Linked DNA regions of Homo sapiens: all the other regions are linked to region 2. Evidence: promoter capture Hi-C in 16 types of primary human blood cells and fetal thymus (Javierre and others, 2016). All regions are on one chromosome and are shown on one strand. Each heading gives the region's core, a stretch centred on a gene start or on the middle of the fragment in contact. The rest is flanking DNA. Distances are from core to core; before and after follow the strand shown.

Region 1 (2,756 bases), core at 231-2,730, 230 kb after region 2:
TTTGGGAGGCCGAGGCGGGTGTATCACTTGACGTCAGGAGTTTGAGACCAGCCTGGCCAACACGATGAAACCTGTCTCTACTAAAAATACAAAAAACTAGCCAGGTGTGGTGGCAGGCATCTGTAATCCCAGCTACTTGGGAGACTGAGGCAGGAGAATCAGTTGAACCTGGGAGGCAGAGTTTGCAGTGAGCCTAGATCGCACCACTGTACTCCAGCCTGGGCGACGGAGCAAGATGATGTGGGGAAAAAAAAAAAAAATTCCAACTTACAGTGATGTAAGCAAAAAGGGAATTTATTGATTTAAAGAGCTAAAAAAATCTATGGGCAGATTTCAACTTCATGGAAAAGGTAAATCTACAGGTTAATTTGATATTGTTAGGCACCTATCTCCATCCCTTGCTTTGCTTTCTTTGAGTTAGCGTCATTCTTAGGAAGGTTCATCCTTCCTTGTGGCACCTTGTCCCTCAGGCTTATGTTCTATCAGCACCTCTTGCCCAATAGTTCCAGGAAAATTCCTGGATCTGATTTTTCACTGGCTCAAATTTTGTCATGTGCCTACCTCTGAATTGATCACTTTAACTTAGATAGGCCAATCCTGGGTTAGGAACGTACCACTGAAGTGGGTTGTGGGACTATGATGATTCCCATCTGAACCACATGGACAAAGAGTGGGGAGAGGATGGGTCTCCAAAGAAAACAGATGTGCTATTACCAATAAAAGGGGGAAGGGTTACTGGGCAGATAATAATGGCAACAACAGATGTTCATGATGGGATAATACTTATCTTGTGAAGGTTTTCTTGTTCCCCATCCAACCCTCCTTCTCTTCCTCAGCTAAAGAGTTTAAAAGTATTGATATTGGCCAGGTGTGGTGGCTCATTCCTGTAATCCCAGCACTTTGGGAGGCCAGATCACTTTGGTGGGCAGATCACGAGTTCAGCAGTTCGAGACCAGCCTGGCCAACATGGTGAAACCCCGTCTCCACTAAAAATACAAAAATTAGCCAGGCATGATGGCAGGTGCCTTTAATCCCAGCTACTCAGGAGGCTGAGGCAGGAGAATCATTTGAACCTGGGAGGCAGAGGTTGCAGTGAGCCAAGACCGCACCACTGCACTCCAGCCTGGGCAACAGAGCAAGACTCCATCTCAAAAAAAAAAAATTGATATCACTAGGTATTAAATACCTCAACCTCTGCACTACTCCCACCTTTTGCCCTACATGCACCCCTCTCCTCACCCCTCTCCCTTCAGTCTGTAAAGGTAAGGTGTCCAATTTTCCTACGTGAGCCTTTGATCCAACCCTCTCTCATCATCTCCAGGATCTCCTGATCTCTCATCTTTTTTCTTTTTTTTCAAATTCATCATATCTACTGATATCTTTTAGTAGTTTACACCCAATGTTCAAGTCTCTACCATCTTTTTATTAAAAAGGCAAAACAGAATATTTTCTTTTACCTGATTCATTTTACCAGAGAATTTCATTTTATTTTTCAATTTCCTTTTTTATTATTAATACTGTTTTTGATTGGAAATCACAATATACGTTTATGGGGTACAATGTGATGTTTTGATATACGTATGCAATGTGGAAAGATTAATTAAGCTAATTAACATATCCCTCACCTCCCCTACCTATAATTTTTTATGGTGAGACATTTGAAATTTATTCTCTTTATTTTGAAATATACAATACATTGCTATTGACTTTAGCCTTTTTGCTATTCAATAGATCTCGAAACTTATTCCTCCTGTCTACCTGGAACACTGTACCCTTTGATCAACAACTCCCCATTCCCTTCCATCCCTGCCCCTCCCATACCCCCATGCCTCTGGCAACCACCATTCTGCTGTCTACTTCTGTGAGCTCAGCTTTATTAGATTCCACATATAAATGAGATCATGTAGCATTTGTCTTTCTGTGTCTAGATTATTTCATTTAACATAGGGTCCTCCAGGTTCATCCATGTTGTCACAAATACAGGATATCTCCACTTTTAAAGGATGAAATACTATTCCATTGTGTCTATAACCACATTTTTTTTATCCATTCATCCATTGATGGACACTTAAGTTGATTCCATGTCTTGGATATTGTAAATAATGCTACAATAAACATGAGCATGTAGCTATCCCTTCAACATACTGATTTCAGTTCCTTTGGATATATACCCACCAGTGGGATTGCTGGATCACATAGTAGCTCTATTTTTAGTTTTTTGGGGCACCTCCATACTGCAAAAACTGAATCTTTTTTTGTTTCAAGGATTCACGTAGGAGAATCTCACATACCTTTGCAGCTACTGTCTATTCTTTCTTCCAAATTTCTCAAAAGGGGGCTCTGCACTTATTTGTTCTACTTCTTCATTTTCCATTTGCTCAATTCATTGCATTGTGGCTTCTGCCTTCATTTTCTGCTAATACAGATCAAATCATGGGGATCCATAACCTCCATGTTGCCAAATTCAAAGGATACGTTTTTTTTTTTTTTTTTTTTGCCTTGACCTTATTGGAAATCTTTTCTGCATTTGATGTTGTTGACCACTTCTTCCCCCTTGAAAGTCTTTCCTCTCTTGGATTTCTTCCATGACATTACTCTCTCCTGATCCTTCTCTTACCCTTCTGCTAATTCTCAGCTTTCTTCTTGACTGTCTTTTTCTGTGCTGGCTCCTAAACACTGGCATTCCAGAGTTCAGTTCTCAGTCCTTTTCTCTTCTCACTCTATACTCTTCTAGGTAGTTGTTGGAATAGTCCTGT
Region 2 (2,849 bases), core at 223-2,722:
GCAGATGACTCCCAAATATTTATGTCCATCCCAGACCGCTCCTCTAAGTTGCAGACCTACCTACCCAACCAGCACTTCAAAGTCAGCAGCCCCAAGTCACAGTCATCATCTCCTCATACGAACCCCCTGCAGCCTCCTGCTGCTCCTTTTGTGGAGCACAGCCAGCCTCACCACCATCCATCCACCCAGCTGCCCAAGCGCCGTGGATATGATCAAGGACCCCAGTCTCTCCCTCACTCCTCTTCCAAAATCACACTCCCTTCTTCTTCAGCTGAAACTGTGTTCCTTCTCCACAGAAGTTCCTGATTTCTTTGTGCCATTTGTACACATCTCAAGTCCAGAAAACCTGTTTTTCTCACAGTCTACTCGCAGTCCTAAGGAAGAAGGACAGGAGTCAGAACTCTTCCCAGTTCCTTTAAGATTGCTTGCTCTTTGTCTCTGTCTGATTTCCCCTCTCCCCATATTCTCTCCCAAGTTGGTTTTTTGAGCCCCTTCCCACTTCCCTGCCCGGTTTCCTCCTCACTTAATTTTTCTAGGGAGTATATCGTGAGTGGGACCACCATCCCCAAAGCTCTTCTTTCCAATATCTCCCGATCTCTACCCTCAAATTTGGGATAAAGAGAAAGTGGGGGAAAGGGAGCCTGGGGGTGAAGGAGAGAAAAGAGACAGAAATCATGGGATAATGAAAAGTGACTAACAGGGGAGAAGGCCGAGGTTACGATGGAAGAAGGGGAAGAGACAGCGGGTAGTGAAAAGGGCAGGGGTGAGAAAAGGGAATGAGGAGAAGGCGTGAGGAAAAGGGGATGATGAGGTGAGGCGAAAGACACAGGGAGAAGGGGATGGGGAGAAAGGTGGGGAGAAGAGACGGGGAGAAAGGGATAGGAAGAAAAGGATAAAAGGAGAGGTGGGGAAGGAGAATCTGATGTAAAGAGGCTGGAGAGAGATCAAGCAGAAGGGGTAAGGAGAAGAGAAAGGGGAGAAGAGCTGGGGAGAAAATGATGGAGATGGGGCGAGAAGAAGAGGATGGGAGAAAGGCAGAGGGGAATGGAGATGACGGTTGGGAAAAAGAAGGGGCGAGAGGGAGACCAGGGCACTGAGGGAGAAGAGGGGAATAGGGGATGGAAAGAAGATGGAAGAGGAGGAGGTGAGCAGCAGGGAGCGGCGAGAAGGGGAAGAGACGAGAGGGCGTAGAGAACCGAATGGGAGGAGAGGACGGGAGAAGTGACGGGGAGAAGGGAAGGGAACCGGGACGGGGGCGCGGCGCGGCGCTGGGGCCGGATCCGGAGCCGGGGCCTGGGGCCGGGAAGTGGAGGGGCGGAGGGAGGCCGGGCGGGCGCCGGGGGGAAGGGGGGGCGGCGGCGCGGAGCGCGGGTGGGGGCGGGGGCGGGGGCTCCGCGGGCGGAGGGGCGGGGGCTCGGGTTACCGCGCGGAGGGCGGGGGGAGGGGAGGGGAGGGGGCGCGGGGCCGCGGCAGCGGAGCTCGCATCCTCGGCGGGGCGGCTGTGCAGGAGGCGGCGCCCGGGCGTCAGCGGACGGACCGATCGACGGCCAAGGGCGCGCGGACCGACGGCGGCTGCCCGGAGGGGATCGCGGGCCTCGGAGACAGCGACTGCGGACGATGCGCGGCCTCAGGCCCCGCGCGAGCGGGCGCTGCCCGGGGGGCTGACCGCGGCCGGACGGCGCCCCAGCACCGGGCGAGGGAGCCCGCGTCGCGCGGAGGTCAGTGCCCGCGCCCGCCCGGCCCGTCTGGCCGCGCCCGCCCTGCCCGCCGGCCTCCCCTGGGCTGCGGCAGCGGCGGCGGAGCCGGGGGCTTTGTTCTGAGCCGGAGACAATGGGGGAGGGGGGGCCTGGGCCTGCGGGACCCGGGCGGGCGTGAACGTGAGCGTGGGGGCAGGGCCTGGGGGTCTTTGTGTGCGTGTGTCATCGAGTCGGGGAGGGTGGCGGCGGGAGCGTGCGCCGGGGGTGTGGGGTGCGACAGCGTTGTGTTCCAGTGCATCGTCGGAGTGTGTCAGTGCGTGTCACTGGGAGGTTGTGTGTCCCTGGGCGTCTCTCTGGCTGTGTGTGCATGTGCGTGTCACTCTGAGGGTGTGAGGGTCAGAATGACCGTGTGTCATGGTGAGCGAGTCCCTGTGAGGGTGTGTTGCCCGCTCTGTGGGAGCCCATGTGTCAGAATGTGGAGGATGGGTGTGTGACAGAGACCAACTGAGACAGAGACAAAGAAACTGAGTGGGGAGAAGTACAGAGAAGCAGAGGAGAGGCAGGCACAGCCTGAAGTGGATGGAGGGGGGGGTCACCCAGACGTGTTCTGAGTGGGAGATTGGAGCAACTGGGAGTTTGTGTCTGGGATACCCAGCTCAGAATCCCGTGCAGGGGACAGAGCAAGGTCACCGCAGGCGTGGGTCCCACGTGGAGGGGGTGGGGAGAGGGAGGTCTAGAAGCACAATGAACTCAGTGTGGCGGGCTGGGCCCACAGCCACAAGGTCATAGGCCAGAAAAATATTGTCGCTTATGTCAACTTCTCAAATACCCATAGGGACACAGTCATAGCCCTACTCAACCCACAAGAGGACACAGTCCCAGGGAACACACATCCTCAAGAGATACCCTCACAGCCATCATACACTTCCAGGAAGCCCACCCCCAGGAAGCACCCCCAGTCAGAACCAACACACACCTACAGCAGACTCTATCAAGCCAACACACACCTACGGAAAATGCTCTCATGACAACACACACCCACAGGAGAAATGCTGCAACCAACATACTCCCACCGGTTCATTGTCAAGGCCAACACATACCATGGAAGACATTGTTACTGCTAACACTCTCCAGAAACACTGTCACCAGCAA
Region 3 (2,705 bases), core at 92-2,591, 160 kb after region 2:
CATTTGATATAATTGTTAAGTGTTTAGTTGTTATTAATTTTGACATAACGATGAACAAGACAAAGGATTCAGTGAGGGCATGAATAAAGAGCATGGACAACTCTTTCATAAAAGGGCAAGGAACGGTACCTGAGTCACAATAGTCCTTAAAGTTTAAGGCCTTGAAACAAGAAAAAGGTGGGTGCGGTGGCTCATTCCTGTAATCCCAAAACTTTGGGAGACTGAGGTGGAAGGATCACTTGAGCCCACGAGGTTAAGGCTGCAGTGAGCCGTGTTCATACCACCACACTCCAGCCTGGGCAACAGAGCAAAACCCTGTCTCAAAAAACAAAAACAACAAAAAAACACAATCAAAGCTCTTCAGACAAAGACAGAAAGGAATTCTGTTCAGCAAGCTCTGCTGAACCCTCAACACTGCCTAAAACTCTGTTTCTTTTGTCAGTTCACTCTTCCATTCCGGGCAATCAGTATTTCAAACCTCTTGTACTCTCTCATCTTCCATTTCCTTCTGCTTTATTCTCAGATGATGACTTTACCTTCTATTTGAAAAAAAAATGAGATGCTGTATTATCAATCAGCATTCTCCAGAGAAGCAGAATCAATAAGATATATATATTCATATAAAGACATATATTTTAAGAAATTGGCTAACACATGTGTGGGAGCTGGTAAATCCAAAATCTGTAGGGCAGGCTGGCATGATGGAAACTCATGCAGAAGTTAATGATGCAGTCTTATTTTTTCCTCTTTTTTAAATTTTTATTTTTTTAGAGACAAAACCTCACTCTGTTGCCCAGGCTGGAGTACAGATCATAGCTCACTGCAACCTTGAACTCCTGAACTCAAGCAATCTTTCCATCTTGGCCTCCCAAAGCATTCGGATTACAGGTGTGAACCACTGCACCTGGCCCGATGCTGCAGTCTTGAGGCAGAATTTCTTCTTCTCTGAGAAACCTCAGTTTTACTCTGAAGGCTTTCAACAGACCCACATTATCAAGAGTAATCTCCTTTATTTAAAGTCAACTAAGTGTACATGTTACCCATACCTATAAAAATGCCTTCACAGTAACACCCAAATTAGGGTTTGATTAAATAACTGGGTACTATAGCCTAGCCAAGTTGACACACAAAACTAACCATCACATGCTATTTAAAAGGAATTCTCTCAATCTCCAAATGCTAAATTTTAAAATCATTTAGATCTGCTCTTATCCATTCCTCCCTCCTTACTGTTACCAATTAGAGATGCTCTTTCTCTCTCTAAAGGCAAGTTCTATACCTTTGCCCTGGGACTATTCTTTCTTGCCTCCTTTCACTCAACAAATATTTATTGAGTATCAACTGCATCAGGCACTGTTTTCAGTGTTTGGTTATATCAGTGTACAAAACAGAAACAGTGACAGAAATTCCTGAGTTATGGACCTTACATTCGAGTGGGAGGGACAGATAATAAAGAATAAAATGACACTTTGGGAGGCTGAGGCGGGCGGATCACGAGGTCAGGAGATCGAGACCATCCTGGCTAACACAGTGAAACCCCGTCTCTACTAAAAATACAAAAAACTAGCCGGCAGTGGTAGTGGGCGCCTGTAGTCCCAGCTACTTGGGAGGCTGAGGCAGGAGAATCGCTTGAACCTGGGAGGTGGAGGTTGTAGTGAGCCGAGATCATGCCACTGCACTCCAGTCTGGGCAACAGAGCGAGACTTCATCTCAAAAAAAAAAAAAAAAGAATAAAATGAATAAACTACATAGCATGTGAGAAGTGATACGTGTTATGGAAAAAAACAAAGCAAAGAGAATCAGGAATGTCTAAGGGAGCATGGGTTACCATTTTAAACACGATAATCAGAGTAAGCCTGAATAAAAAGGTGACATCTGACATCTGAGCAAGGACTTGAAGGAAAGGAGGACAGACCTTCTCCCTATCTTTTGTCTGGTTTATTTTATTATTTTGAGACAGGGTCTTGCTCTGTCACCCAGGCTGGAGGGCAGTGAGGTGATCATGGCTCACTGCAGTCTTGATCTCCCGAGATCAAGCAATCCTCACACCTCAGCCTCCCAAGTAGCTGGGACTACAGGCATGTGCCACCACGCCCAGCATATTTTGGTTTTCGTTTTTTTTTTTTTGTAGATATGGGGTCTCACTATGTTCCCCAGGCTGGTCTCGAACTCCTGGGCTCAAGCAATCCTCCCGCCTTGGCCTCCCAAAGCGCTGGGATTATAGGTGTGAGTCACCATGCCAGGCCTGTCTGGTTAATTTTAATTCATCCTTTGGGTCTCAGCTTCAAAATCACTTCCAGTGAAGCTCTCCTTCATCCCTCAAACAGAAAAAGTTTGCACTTCTGTATGTTTCCATTACAAGATGCATTTCTTCTTTATAACATTCATCACAGTTGTGATTACTGGTCCTATATTAACCTTCACGTAACTACGTTAAGTTTCAAGAGAACACGGATTGAACGTTCTCGTTCAGCTCTGTATCTGCAGGGCTTAAGCTAAAATTGGTAAAAGCAGTCACTCAAATATCTGTGGAATATGTGAATATATAGATGAATGTGGGGCATACCCAGAAAAGGAAAAACAGAATCTCTATTACATGTAACTAAGCTAATTCCTAACTAATCAAAAGGGGTCTAGACTCAAGACAAAAAGCTATTAGGAAGCACTCTGTTGAGCCCCTGTGTCTCCGTGCTGGAGCTGCAGGG
Region 4 (2,943 bases), core at 307-2,806, 180 kb after region 2:
AGAAGGAGCTGAGAAGTGTTTTAAGCAGAAATTTGACTGCATGGGAGAAGTATAGAGTTGAGAAAAGTAGTCCTCTGAGGCTTAAGATAGTGTCATCTAGACTCCAGTTCCCTCATCTTGGGTAGCATAGTAGCCCCAGCCCAAAACTGCAAGCATGATCCCCGTCTGGGTTTCCTTCACAAGCACTGGAGCATCTTGTGCTATGTGCTGAACTCAGGTGGATAAGAGGTTGAGGCGGTTCCCAAAGCTCCTGCTGCACCCAGGTGTTGAGCCTAAATCTGAACCTTGTGGAGAGGTCACAAGAAAGATCCCTAACAGCACTTTGGTTTAGTCAGGGCTAGGTGTCATCACCTGTATGCCCTTTGGCCAAGGAAACCAGAATTTTTCAGGATTTTCCCCACCTCTGGAAGGCTGGAGGAAGGGGAAGACCCACTCAGCAGATTCCCATAGTGCAGGGATCCTCACAGGCATGACTTTGCCCTTTGTCATGGATACTGCAGCTCCCAGACAGTCTTCTGGGCTTTGATCAGCCTGCAATCATCTGACTAGAGCTTGATTTTTGGGGCAGGGAAGGTGGTCCTTATATGAGCTGCCACTTAATGGGCCACTGGGGATTTTTCAACATGAAAGGTACCGAGTCTCCAAATGCTGGTTGTAGGGCCTAAAAACAGGGCTCAACTCCAGGTTCTGCCACTTTCTAGCTGAGTGATGAGGGCTAACGTCTGGGGAGCAAGATCCCTATTTTTTCCCATTGTAAAATTGGGCTAATAAAAGATGCTACCTACTGACTATTAAATAATATATGTAAAGTGGCTAGTTCTGTGTCGGCACATAATAACCACTCAGTCCCTGTAAACTGTTACAATTATTTTCCACTTGGGGCTGCTTTTTGCACAAGGCGATGATTCTGAGAATTGTCCAGTGTCTTTGGTGTGAGGAAGGGAGTCGCTGGATGGTCTGAACCAGAATTTCCTCAGGAGGGGGCTCCTGAAGCGCCCAAAGCCTAATCAAATCCCCCACCTTTCTACCCCTTAACTCCTTCTCCCAGAGTTCTGGGTACTGCCCTTCTGCCGCCCAGAGATCGTGCTGAGGTACAGACGGTTTCTACGTCTTCCTGGTCAGCCGATAGACTAGCATATTCCATAGGAGCACTCCAAGGAAGCCGGAAAGGGCGCCTCCAGGAGGCAGGCGGCCCAGACAGGCTCCCAGAGTCCGAAATCCCTGCTGCCCCAGCTGCCTTTTCTTGACGGAGTCTCATCTCAATCCCTGAGACCGACTACACCGCCCTTCCCGGAGCCGGAGGCAGCTGGCGGAGATCCGGGATCCGAGATCCGGGATCCGGCTCGCCGGCCCGCCGGCTCCCTAGCAGCACCAAGGAGGCAGCGTCCGCAGGAGGTGGAGGCGTTGGCGGGGGGGCGTGCGGGTGCGGTAGGGGTGGGCAGGCGGGGTGGGCGGGGCCTCCGCGGCGGCGGGCGGGGCGTGGGTGGGTCTTCCCTACTGGAGTCACCCCCTCCCCCGGCCGGTCCGCAGCCCCGCCCCGGCCCCTCCCTCCGGCCTGTGCGGCTAGTCCGGCGGCGGCGCCGGCGCGGGGACAGGCGGAGGCGCGGGCAGGGCCGGGCGGACGGGCGCTGGCAGCAGTAGCAGCGCCGCGGGCCCTTCAGAGTGGCCGCAGTCCGAGCTTTGCCCTCGCATCCTGTTCCAACGCGGTGAGTGCGACGGGCGGGCCCCAAGGGTGCGTTTGTATTCCTGTCAGCCCGGGTCTGGGTCGGAGCGTCTGTGGGTGGGGGCACAGATGATTTTCAAAAGCTGTGCCTCTCTCTGCCCACGTGAGGCGTGTCCATGTCCGTGAGAGCAGCAGGGGGATTCTTCGGGCTGTGGCTGCTCACGTGAGGTCCCTGTTTTGAGGCGGGGAGGCGCGGGTGGATGGGTGATGGTTCCTTAGGGGAGCGCGGGGTTTGGGAGCTTGTGTGTGTTGGCGGAGGGTGCTGAACGCTGCGGCCGAGGGTGGTGGTGGTGGTGCGTGCTGAGTGGGACTCTGGAATATTGTGGCCCATCTTGTCTGAAGGGCTCTTTTCTCCCTGGTGCAGACACCTCCACCCCTTGCTCCCCCACCCCCACCCTACCCCACCCCCCGCCCCTTCCATCCTCTGGTACCCACAGGCCCACCAGTCAGGATGGAGGACACCCTTTCCTCCCCATGCACTGCTCTGTGGACAGAAAGCCTCATGTGGAGGCTGTTTTTTTGTAGGAAAGGACCCCTCTGGTTCTCCTGTAGCCTGAGCCCTGCCTGGAGGACCCCAGGCCCCTCCCTGGTTCTGACCTCCTCCCTTCTGCAATTGGCTTCAGATCCTGGGCTGCAAACCTGCAGGGACAGATGGTTGCAGGTTGGAGGGGCAGGCTGCACCCCAGGGAGGTCAGTTCGACTGAGGGCAGGCCCTGGGCTTGTTCTTGGTGTGGGGGTTCTCTGATGTGGACAACAGAAACTCAGGACTGGCCCTAGCAGGAAGATCACATCTGGGAGGTCACAGCAGGTGCAGAAAACATCACAGGTCTCCCTTGGCCAGTCTGTCTAGCTCACTGGTGCCCATTCATCCCCTAAGCAGGGGATGATTTGCTGCAGAATTGGAATCAGAGCTGCAGGCCTGACAGTAGCCCTGCCTCCTTGGGCTTGTATGCCTCCAGTGACAGAGCACTTGCTACTTTCTGCTGTGGAAAAGCTTCCTTATATTAAGCAGAGGTCTCTCTTCTTGGGACTTTATTCACTTGTCTTGTTACTGCCATTACTTTTGCATCTCTCTCTGATGAAAGGGAACTGCAGAGATTTAAACAGAGCTCTCCTGTAACCAACATATACTGAGTACTTCCTGTGTGCCAGGTACTGCCACAGCCACTTAGGAGACAATGGCATTCTTGCCGAGAGAACTTGAGCAAAGAGTCCATCGT
Region 5 (2,836 bases), core at 138-2,637, 210 kb after region 2:
CCGTGGTGGGCATTTTCTTTCCAATTCAGGCCTTGGGGCCAAGTAGATGAAAGTAGTGCCTGACAGTGGAGGCCAAGTCTGGAATGATTGTCACAGATTTGGGGGTCACAGCAAAGCCCCTGCTGTCAGAATGTTATTTTGTGGTCCTGCAAGGGTTCACACTTTGCTCATATAGGGCTGTCTGGTGACCAGAACAGCCCTATGGCCATTTGTGGTCTGCGGGTTCATTTATTTATTGAACAAGTATTTGTTGAGCACTTAATATTAGACAGAGTAATGGGCCCTGGGAATACAGAGAAATGGTCCCTGCCCTTATTAAGCTTATAGTCTAGTGGAGAAGGGAGACAAGTAAGCAACAAGGAACTAAATGTGTAATAACAATTTGAGTTCAAGCTGTGAAGGAAATGAACAGAATACAATGATAGACAATATAGTGTTAAATAGAGTGGACAAGGAAAGTCTCTTTAAGCAGTGACCTGTAGGGTTGGAGCAGGGTGGGTAGGGAACTAGCTGTGTTAAGAAAAGGAGATAGAGATTTTCAGACAAAGGAAAAACAGGTACAAACATCCTGAGGGGTTGAGATCTTGATGTGTTTGAGAATCTGAAAGGAGGCCAGGGTGACTGGAGAGGAAGGAGGGTGGAAGGAGAGAGGAAAGGAACAAGTTTGGAGAATTAGGCCTGACTTCGATCATTTAACTAAGATAAAGAGCTTGGATTTGGTCTGGAGTATGACAGTAAGCCACTGAAAAGTTTAAGTGATAAGGATGAAAGGGATGCCCTGTGAAACAAACTTTAAACTGGGCAGTGATTCTGTGGGGTAGGAAGAGAATTGAGAAAGAAAATCAGAAAACAATTCAACTTCTCTAAACTGTTCCTCTTGAAGACTGTGTATACATTAGAATTACAACTGACTTCGGCCAGGTGCAGTGGCTCCCGCCTGTAATCCCAGCATTTGGGAGGCCAAGGTGGACAGATCACAAGGTCAGGAGATTAAGACCATCCTGGCTAACACGGTGAAACCCTGTTTCTACTAAAAATGCAAAAAATGAGCCAGGTGTGGTGGCAGGCGCCTGTAGTCCCAGCTAATCGAGAGGCTGAGGCAGGAGAATCACTTGAACCCAGGAGACGGAGGTTGCAGTGAGCCGAGATCGCGCCACTGCACTCCAGCCTGGGTGACAGAGTGAGACTCTGTCTCAAAAAAAAAAGAAAAAAAAAAAAAATTACAACTGACTTCAAGAAAAAATTTTAAGCAGGAGCATAAGGTGATCTCAGATACGTTTTTAAAGATCACTGTGGTTGTTATAAAGAATGTGTTGTAGAGGAGCTATTTCAATGGTCACACAAGAAAAGGTGGTGTTTGCATTACTAAAGAGGCAGAGAGAAATGGACAGATTTTATGTATAATTAGGAAGTAGGAATAATAGGATTCAATATTTATTAAATACATACAGTATTTCAGGCGTGTTCTCAGTGCTGAAGATATAGCAGTGACTAAAGCAGGTAGGATCCTTGTCCTGTACACAAAGGCAGCATGGTAGACTGTGGGGTGCTGGAGCTGGCTCATGAGAGCTGATTGTCAAATTTAGAATTTTGAGAGCTGGTTGTTAAAACACAGCTATTATTAAAAATCAAACTATATAAACTTAAATACATTCTATTAAAACCAAAGATAATCAGTACTTAAAAGTAATCACTTCCTAATTATTTTACTACATTTTACTATCCCCTGTGCTCTTGTGATTATTTATATCTATCATATCTGTATGGTAGGAATATTGTATGCAGTGTGTTACTGTACATCCCTTCCCAACTCTACATTTGGTGATGTCTTGTCGGTAGCTTAAAGTTGGCCATGGTAGGAGTATTTATATCACAAAAATCTGCAAATGTTACAAATCAGTGCTTTTTCCCCCTAGAGAGCAGTTGTTAAATATTTGCCAGCGAACCCCTTGATAAGAACACACTATCCTTGTAGGAACACACCCCTAGGAGTCAGGCACCCAGGGTTTAAATCATGGCTCTGCCACTTGCTAGCAATGTGATTTGGCTAAGATACCTAATATTGGCTTCCTCATTCATAAAACGGGACTCATAGTGCTACCTTTGTCTGTTTGTGCTGCTATAACAAAATGCCCATGACTGATGATTTATAATGAACAAAAATGTATTTCTCACAGTTCTGGAGGCTGGGAAGTCCAAGATTAAGGTGCCCAGCAGGTTTGGTGTGTGGTGAGGTCCTGGTCTCTGCTTCTATGATGGCATTTTGAACGCTGCATCCTCTAGAGGAGACAAATGCTGTTCATCACGTGGCAGAAAAGCAGAGGAGAGAGAATCCACTTCTGAAAGCCCTTTTTATAGCAGCATTAATCCATTCATCGGGCAGAGCTCTCATGACCTAAACACCTCTCATGAGGCCGCACCTCCAAACACTGGCACATTGGGAATTAAGCTTCCAACACATCAATTCGGAGGGGACAGAAACATTCAAACCATAGCAAGTGCTATATACATGCTATATATATATATATATAGCACTAAGGCCCATTATAGACTGAGCAAGAGGAGGGGTCAGCTGGGATCAGCAAGCTCTTTGGCTGCCTGGAGCTTTATCCCTAAGCCTCCTACCCCTGAGGAAAGGAGACATTCAGTTCCTGCTCCCTGGAGTATACAGCCACAGACTTCAGGCCCAGCACACCTAGCACTCAGTGGGCCCAGGAGAAATGGCTAAGGTCAGAGAACTCATATCAACAGCAGAGCAGGCTGGACATAGACATAGCCATTCCAAGGGACAGTGGGTCAGTGTCCAGCTTACATCTGGCTCTTGGCAATGCAGGAG

What was found. Contacts are between HindIII fragments. The CHiCAGO score rates a contact against its expected background, and 5 or more counts as called.
Region 1: a fragment that was not itself captured here is called in contact with the fragment with the promoter of DCHS1 in region 2 in 2 of 17 cell types (total CD8 T cells and activated CD4 T cells); the score reaches 6.0 in total CD8 T cells.
Region 3: a fragment that was not itself captured here is called in contact with the fragment with the promoter of DCHS1 in region 2 in 4 of 17 cell types (activated CD4 T cells, total CD8 T cells, naive CD4 T cells and 1 more); the score reaches 8.6 in activated CD4 T cells.
Region 4: a contact is called between the fragment with the promoter of TRIM3 here and the fragment with the promoter of DCHS1 in region 2, in 12 of 17 cell types (non-activated CD4 T cells, fetal thymus, naive CD8 T cells and 9 more). The highest score is 10.6, in non-activated CD4 T cells.
Region 5: a fragment that was not itself captured here is called in contact with the fragment with the promoter of DCHS1 in region 2 in 5 of 17 cell types (non-activated CD4 T cells, activated CD4 T cells, fetal thymus and 2 more); the score reaches 7.1 in non-activated CD4 T cells.

What each region holds. Positions count from the first base shown.
Region 1 is chr11:6,423,665-6,426,420 of GRCh38, reverse strand. No RefSeq gene overlaps it. Among named protein-coding and RNA genes, the nearest start is that of APBB1, 5.9 kb to the right of the region's middle. The HindIII fragment of the contact is 6,341 bases long and covers 1-2,756 here.
Region 2 is chr11:6,654,432-6,657,280 of GRCh38, reverse strand. It overlaps DCHS1 (dachsous cadherin-related 1), which reads left to right and starts at 1,472. Exons shown (of 21, transcript NM_003737.4): 1 at 1,472-1,718. The HindIII fragment of the contact is 4,247 bases long and covers 1-2,849 here.
Region 3 is chr11:6,490,327-6,493,031 of GRCh38, reverse strand. No RefSeq gene overlaps it. Among named protein-coding and RNA genes, the nearest start is that of DNHD1, 5.6 kb to the left of the region's middle. The HindIII fragment of the contact is 4,880 bases long and covers 1-2,705 here.
Region 4 is chr11:6,472,554-6,475,496 of GRCh38, reverse strand. TRIM3 (tripartite motif containing 3) reads left to right here and starts at 1,556. Exons shown (of 12, transcript NM_033278.4): 1 at 1,556-1,706. RefSeq lists a silencer at 1,430-1,659 and enhancers at 1,017-1,955, 1,956-2,895. The HindIII fragment of the contact is 3,557 bases long and covers 1-2,719 here.
Region 5 is chr11:6,443,953-6,446,788 of GRCh38, reverse strand. No RefSeq gene overlaps it. Among named protein-coding and RNA genes, the nearest start is that of HPX, 4.4 kb to the right of the region's middle. The HindIII fragment of the contact is 2,129 bases long and covers 323-2,451 here.